Regions from separate parts of the Homo sapiens genome. Here region 1 is linked to region 2. Evidence: promoter capture Hi-C in human tissues and cell types (Jung and others, 2019). All regions are on one chromosome and are shown on one strand. The core of a region is centred on a gene start or on the middle of the fragment in contact, and the rest is flanking DNA. Distances in the headings are between cores, read along the strand shown. Region 1 has its middle 550 kb from the start of LINC01876. Region 2 holds the start of GPD2 (glycerol-3-phosphate dehydrogenase 2).

What was found. The method cuts DNA at HindIII sites, captures the fragments that hold promoters and counts their contacts. A contact is called where the count stands out against the background at its distance.
Region 1: a contact is called between a fragment that was not itself captured here and the fragment with the promoter of GPD2 in region 2, in 1 of the 25 tissues and cell types used here (hippocampus).

What each region holds. Positions count from the first base shown.
Region 1 is chr2:155,707,622-155,711,268 of GRCh38, forward strand. No RefSeq gene overlaps it. Among named protein-coding and RNA genes, the nearest start is that of LINC01876, 550 kb to the right of the region's middle. The HindIII fragment of the contact is 5,969 bases long and covers 1-3,647 here.
Region 2 is chr2:156,435,094-156,438,743 of GRCh38, forward strand. It overlaps GPD2 (glycerol-3-phosphate dehydrogenase 2), which reads left to right and starts at 1,286. Exons shown (of 17, transcript NM_000408.5): 1 at 1,286-1,420. RefSeq lists silencers at 388-557, 998-1,407 and an enhancer at 798-847. The HindIII fragment of the contact is 7,799 bases long and covers 1-3,650 here.

The sequences.
Region 1 (3,647 bases), core at 233-2,732, 730 kb before region 2:
TAAATACTTTTAAAAAATCACTTATTTGAAATATAATAGGTTCATGAGCACCTGCCTTTCAAACCCTAGGCTCTGTAAAACAGTATTTCATGCGATCCTCTAATTACCCAAGGAGGTATATACTATTATCATATTTTTGTGGTTAAGTAATTCAAGACTCAAAGATGTTAAGAGACTTGTCCAAGGTCATACAGCTGAACATAGTGGAGCTTGGATTTGTCTGTTTTAAAGGAGGCATTAAATCTCTTTAGAACTTGACTTATTTTTGAAAAATGAGTACTATTACTTCTCTAAATGTATATAGTATATTTCTATAATCTTCATATTTCCAATGAGTTAGTCAACTGTTAAGAAATAGAAAATTTGTGAAAATACTATAGCAAAGAAAGACTAACCTGACTCAGTCAATTAGTAATTTGTATCTTTTGTCTCCAGACTCCTATCTTCCTGAACACATTGTCAGTGGTCATACAAGACTGCATTTTAATTTAGATACAAAGACATAAAAATTGGATTTCAGAGAATAGACATATTTTGCTATTTACTTCTGTGGTGACAGACATAATTCCTGTCAGTCAGTCATCTAACTTCAACTAACCTCTGTCATTCCCCTCACCACTAAGGGGCAATACAGCAGCACACATGTCACTGTAATTAGCATGCAGCAGCAACTTTCATTAGACCAATGATCTCCAATAAGATTTTCCCAAGGGCTGCATTCAGTTATGTGTAATCGTTAGGCGGGCCACACATGTATTAGCATATAATTTGCACATGATTTGCATATGCATTTAAAGATTGCATCCTATTTCTCTGGATATTTCTAGTAAAAATGTAATTACTACAACATTGAAGGTTGTGATTTCTCTTTCTCTGCACTATCCCACCACATCTGACTCATGTCTCGTGACAGAATAGTTCAGCAGAAAACCAGGAAAAGCCAGCAGGGAGGAAATAGTCAGTAGAGATGGTTAGGGTCAATAGAAATCTTTTTGGGGGCACTAATGATGAGAACTGAGAGTATATTGCATTAGACAGTTTGTCTCTTTTATAAGGATAAAGGAATAAATGCCCACTGGGTGGACCTTCTAAGAAATGTCTTTATAGTTACTGCTGATATCTTGTTGAGCATCTTTTTTTCAAACCTCATTACAGGCTAAACAGCAAATTATCTATTATCACTTGGGAAATCTCAGTTACCTCTTAATTCTAATAGTGTAGTCACATAACAACTTTAACTGAGTTTTCTACTAAACCTAATTACTCTCTGTTTTGAGCACTAATTTTAAGTGGAGAGCTCTCTATTTCCTTTAGTATTTTTTAATTCATATGGACCAGTCCCACACACTTGGAGATCATACCCACTCCCAATTAAAGAGCTTCCTGGTGCATTCATATTTGGTTAGGTAAAGGAAAAGTTACAAGGAAGCGCACATGATTGGTATAGGACAAAATTAGTAAAAATTGGGAATAAGTACACATGCATAGACACAGACATTCTCACACATTTTTAAATACATATATGTTCTTATGTTTGTGAAAAAAAATTATTTTCTCCCTCTCTGACTTCTTCTGCAATCAATTCAAAATCTACATTTGTTTATCTGGGAAAATGTTCTTACTGCTAATTAGATAGAGTTAGATAATACATAGATAATAGCTAGATGACAGAGAGGATCATAAAAATTCTGGTGGTTGTAGACTGAAGACATATAACTACTAGAAAAAAAGTAGTATAGTCCTATTTCCTCTATATGTTTCACCAGTGTTCTATTTATGCTTTGTTATTTCAGATGGTCAGAACCACGTAAGAAAATTGTTAAAAGCAGAATTTCCCTTACCTACTCTGGTGTTCTTTGAACTTCTAGGGCCAGGCCAGGAATCAGTAGAATGCTTTCAAATAAGGTCACACAATTTTTGGATGATAGAGCCAGGACTTGAATCAATACTTGTATAATTCCCTATTCTACCTTTAAAGTCTTGATTTTATGATCTCATTTATGTGCATAGTGAACAGACATCATATTCTGTTTTGTGAGTAGAACAAAATTAAGCAATTCTCAGTACTTTGTTCTTGCAGTTCATGATAACAAAGGACGCACAGAACAGAACTCATCTGTTGGCCAAACACTTAGTTAACATCCTCAACAGTGACTTAATAGAAGATGAAAAGATACATTTTTTCCTGCATCTTCTTCTAGTCAACCAGTTCTTTTGTCCCAAATTCTAGTATGATTTGGCACTATCAGCAACACATATCTTTGGTTTACCCATTGTATCCCTGGAAAGTGAATGTATCTGTAATATAATAAATTATCTGTAAGCAATTTTTTATTGGATAAACAAGTATGAATGTATAACTGTTACACAAATTGTTTATAACATAGGAAGCAGTTCATGATGTATTAAGTAAAAATGTAGGCTACAAAGTTTTTTCTTAATAGTTTGATCCCATTTTGGGGTAAGGAAGACAGAGGGACACATATTAATGAAATTATAGTTCATTGATAGTGTGGAATTATGGTTTCTTTTTCATAAGTTTGTCTTATTTTTTTAAATGTATATTTTTATAATAAAAACAAAAATGTTGTACGTTTGTTTTTGTTTTATTTTAAATATAGTGGCCCCTTCTACTACATCTTGGTAGGACTTTATGGAACACAGTTGGAAAACCCACATTATAATTAACGATCCAGGGTTCCAATATGAAATGTGGGCTTAAGTTTCTTACTTAACAGCCCCATCTCCTTATTCAATTTACTTTTTGGTGTTATTTATGTAAAAATCTGCCTCTTTCTTTAAACTGAAACTGTCTTAAGACCAAAAGCACATATTATTTATTTCTGTGGTCATCTCATCCTGATGCCAACCCTAGTAATAAGCTCATATGTAGCCTGCACCCAAAAGATATTTACAAAAATTTGTTCAATAGCTTAATTAAAACAGTAAGCGCCACAAAATTATATAGCTTACTAGTGAGTATATAATATAAGCACCCTTTTTGAAAATAAATCTGAAATTTAAAGAAACTTGGTAGCCTAATTTCTTAATGAACTCTATTGCCATTGGTCATGTCACTTCATAAATAAAAGTCGTTGATCACAAGGAAAACCAGACTAGAGCACCATCAATCATGTCTATTGGGGAAAAACAAAACACTTCAAGTAATATGTTTATGGTTCATTCTGTTCCTGATCACAAATAAATCATTAATTCAAAACTCCTGAAAGTAGTCATTTACCTAACCACAAAAGCTAAAGAGTAGGAAAAAAATTGTAATGCAAGAAAAATATGTAAGTAAGCTTGAAATCATGAAAGAAGTGAAAGTATGGGAAAATCTCACCAAGTCTAAAGAACTTCTATATTTTTAACTTTAGGTTGAGGAATATCTCCATTGATTTCTTTTTCATAAAGAATGAATACTTGGGCTCAATGGCAAGGAAATTAGAATTATAATAACTTTTTTATATCAGAGCTAAACCCTACATAGTTTCATCCCACCCAAAATGATCCTTTTCAGGATAATCCATTAACTGAGGTTTCCCATTCCAATTTACTATTGTTTTTCTCCTAGAGTACTGCCTAAACTGCATAATTTGATAAGACTGTGCGTATTCCTAGGCCTATGTGCAGTAACAGTTTAACCT
Region 2 (3,650 bases), core at 36-2,535:
GGGATTTAATAAATATATGCATTCCTCTGGGTCAACTACAGGAATTCTGCGGTATTTAAGGACATTAAATGAGTGACTTAATACTTTATTTAAAAAAATACCACTGCTTTTTGGTTCACACTAATTTTCTTCCTTCTTTTGGAAAGGCATTTCCGTCCATCTCCTGGATATTTTCCAATACCACGATAGAAAGGTTATTAGTACAGCACCCAGAGGTCTTCGGAGCAAAGCTGTTAAAGAAGTGGGGTCCATTTGAGCCCCAACTTTGCCTTCCTTAGGTCCCCTTGGGCTTGTCTAGCCCTAGGAGTTCCAACAAGTAAGCTGGGCATGCTCAGTGGGCAGGGTCGTTTTTTTTTTTTGGGTGGCGGGGGGTTGCAAGTGGGAAGCCTGCTGTTCAGCTGCCGGGGCTCTCCGCCTCCCCCCACCTGTATGAGGCTGGGTCTGGGGAACCTGTGCTCAGCATTCCACCCCCTGGAGCTTGGGCTTGGTCTTCCCTGCGGGTCCCTGCGCTGACATTCAGGCGGGGAGCCAGGAGGCCTGGCGCGCCTCCAGAGCCCGCCGGGGGAGCCGGGCGAGGGTTCTGGGCTCTGACGGCGGGGTCGCAGGGTCGCCCGCCTCCTGGACACGTCTGTAGGCCTAGGGAAGCCTGCCGGCCGGGAGGTACAGAGTAGGAGAAGCCAGATCCCAGGGCGGACAACGAGAAGTCGTCAGGTAAGCCAGCCCCGCCAGCGTGCCGGCGGACGAGTGTCTCCTCTCCCGCAGGCAGATGGCCAGGGCGGCCCGCATGGGCGAGGGCACAGGAAATCGGACACCGCCACCGTCTTCCCCAGCCTGGCCTAGCTCAGGCTTTCCAGTCCGCCAGCCCGCTGGCAAGGCGGGGCGGAGGTCTGGAGTCCGGCATCGCCGAGGCACAAAGCAGGAACTGCAGCCAGGGGCGAGGGCCCTTGCGTGTGGCGCTGCGCGACCCCACCCGGCGGCAGGACCCGCGTCCCCGTCTAGTCACGTTCATTGGGCCACGGAGACCACCTCGCTCGCCGCCCGCTGTTGGCTTTTCCCTCCCACACCCCCGCCAACCCCGGCCCCGGTTCCCGCCCCCACTTCCGCGTTTCCCCGCTGGGCCGGAGGAGCCTGGGCCCGAGGTATCCGGGCAGGAGGTGGCGGCCTCGCCGCCCTGGTCAGGCCTCCGGGAGGGAGCAGGCGCGGGAGCGGGAGGAGGAAGTCGGGAAGAGGGAAGGCGGGGGCGCGGCCCGCCCGGCGCTCGAGTTACACCCGCCCAGCCCGCCTCGAGTGACAGCCCCGCGCGCCTCGCTGGGAGCACCCGGGCCGAGGCTCTGATTCTGGGGGGAGGCCGACTCCACCCTGGCTGGAGGAACTGGGTGCTCCTGCCCGCTGGCCCCTCGCGCGTGAGGATCTATCTCAGGTGTGTGCTTCCTGGGAGACCCCTTCCCCCGCCTCTAGTATTCTAGGGGGGGAGTGGTCCCTTTCTGACCCGGGCGAGTGTTCTGGGACTCCAGTCTTGGCGGTAGGTGGTGGCGGGAAACGGGAAAGATTTAGAATTTCTTCCCACCAGCAGAAGATGGATTCGCTCTTCTCTAGGGTTTCGTTGTTTATGTTTTGGAGGCGGCATTTGTAAAATAGTAAAGTGGCAGGACTTTTGGGGCGAGGGTTGGTACCCCATTGAAAGTTCATGCAAACTTTTAGCTTGTAGATGCGGCTAGTCTGATAAGGATTGTTGCTCCCTTCCGAAGCAAGAGTGAGAACGAGTCTGGAGGAGGGCTGAGGCTTCTTTGAGAAACTCAGCTGCTGGCGTGTGACCGTCCTAGGAGGAAATGGAAGGTGCACACTGATAACTTAAAACAGCCTCCACTCCCTATGTAGTAACTTCTACCAGCAAAAATAGATTTGCAAAGAGTGCTTTGGCAGGAAGGTGTAGCTGGGTGAATGAAGTGCTGCTCTTAGCAGATGGTCTCTAGTCTGGCTTCCACCTTGTGCAGTGGAATATTCACTCCCAGAAGAGTTCCAGAGTAATTTACAAACACAAATTCTTGCAAAGTGTTAGTGACATGGGCAACCCAAATCACACACAACACATTATAAATATCATAGGAGGCAGCTATAGAAATAGCAGCTAGTCAACTTATACTTGTATAAATAGGTGAGGGAAGGAAGTTAGTAAGTGACAGGGAGTCTTTATTGCTAAAACAAAACTGTTAGTATTTTGCATGTGTTCCAAGTTTAAAGAGATGTGAAGTTTCTTTTTGGCGTGTGGACGGTGCTGGCAGCTGTCACACTGGGCCCAGGCACTTCTTCGTAGCTACTGACCACTCTAGTCCCAGTCCTACAGTTCTTGCTGGCTACCACATGACATCTGGATGCCATTGCCCAATGGAGACCGTGTGCAGTCTGGGGAACCTTGTGATGTGGATGTTGAAACCCCCCTCTGTTTCTCACAGGGGCGTTATGTCAAATTACAACACTCCCTTGACTTTTACAAATCAACTCGTGAAATAATACAGCAATATTTTAATGAATAAATGGGTAAATATGGGGTTTTGGGTTTGAGAACCAACAATGGATTCATTGCAACTGTCCATTCTCATAGCTTATAGAGTCACTTTATTTTATAAAGAAATTCTAAACAGCATTAGAGCTCTGCTTCCTTCTTTCTCCCTTGTGATTCATTCAAAGATGCAATGGCTTGGTTCAGGAATTGACAAAAGGGCCACAGTGTTACCAATTGTTAGTGAGTGTTACCACCCCCTTTAGTTTTTTTTGTAACTATTTAATCTCATTGTAGATATTTTAAAAGATTTGATGATTATTGTGCATAACTCATGTTGGCAAACTATTATAACTCTGAACTTATCCTGTTTGGTTGTTTTCTTTCATCTCTAGCGTGTAAGTTCTATGAGAGTAGCAGGGCTTGTTCTGTCTTGCATACTTTCAAAACTCTAATGCCTGGAGTGGTGACTAGCTTGTAATACACCCTCAATAAATGTTTTCTCAATGAGTGACCTCCAATGCCTAGAGGGGTGACTAGCTTGTAATACACCCTCAATAAATGTTTTCTCAATGAGCGACTGAACTGTGGAACAAACTCCAGCTGAGGGTAGTTGTGGAGCGGGGAGCCAAAGACTTTGGCCTTAGGTCATCTTTTAAAACTCAGCCTCAATTGTCTCATTGGCAAAATATGGATAATAAATGCTATGACGTGTGTAAAATTGCTAGCAATGTACCTGGCAAGTAGTAGACTTCAAAAGACTAGCTTCCATCCTATATTTTTCCTTCTTATACTCAAGTAGGAAAATATGGGCAAAGAATGTAGTTAGCTTGAAAATTTGGGCAAAGAATTCTTGCATGTTGTGCATGAATTATCCGTACATTTTTTTCGGTTAGTTGAGTGTGTTGGGATGGGGAGAGGAGAGGCGAGTTAGTGGTAGCTATGGTTATTAGAGAAGGGAAGCAATTTTCAGATCAGTATCTAATTTCTCAGTTTTAGTTTTTGAATGTGATGATGTTTCTGTTTAGGTTTTCCAAAACTTGATTCTTTCTGTTTGTCAACACCTGGACTCATGGGGCTATCCTAAGTGCAGAAACAACACTTCAGAAAGAGGACTAGAAATCAAATATATGAACACTAGTCTTCTTAA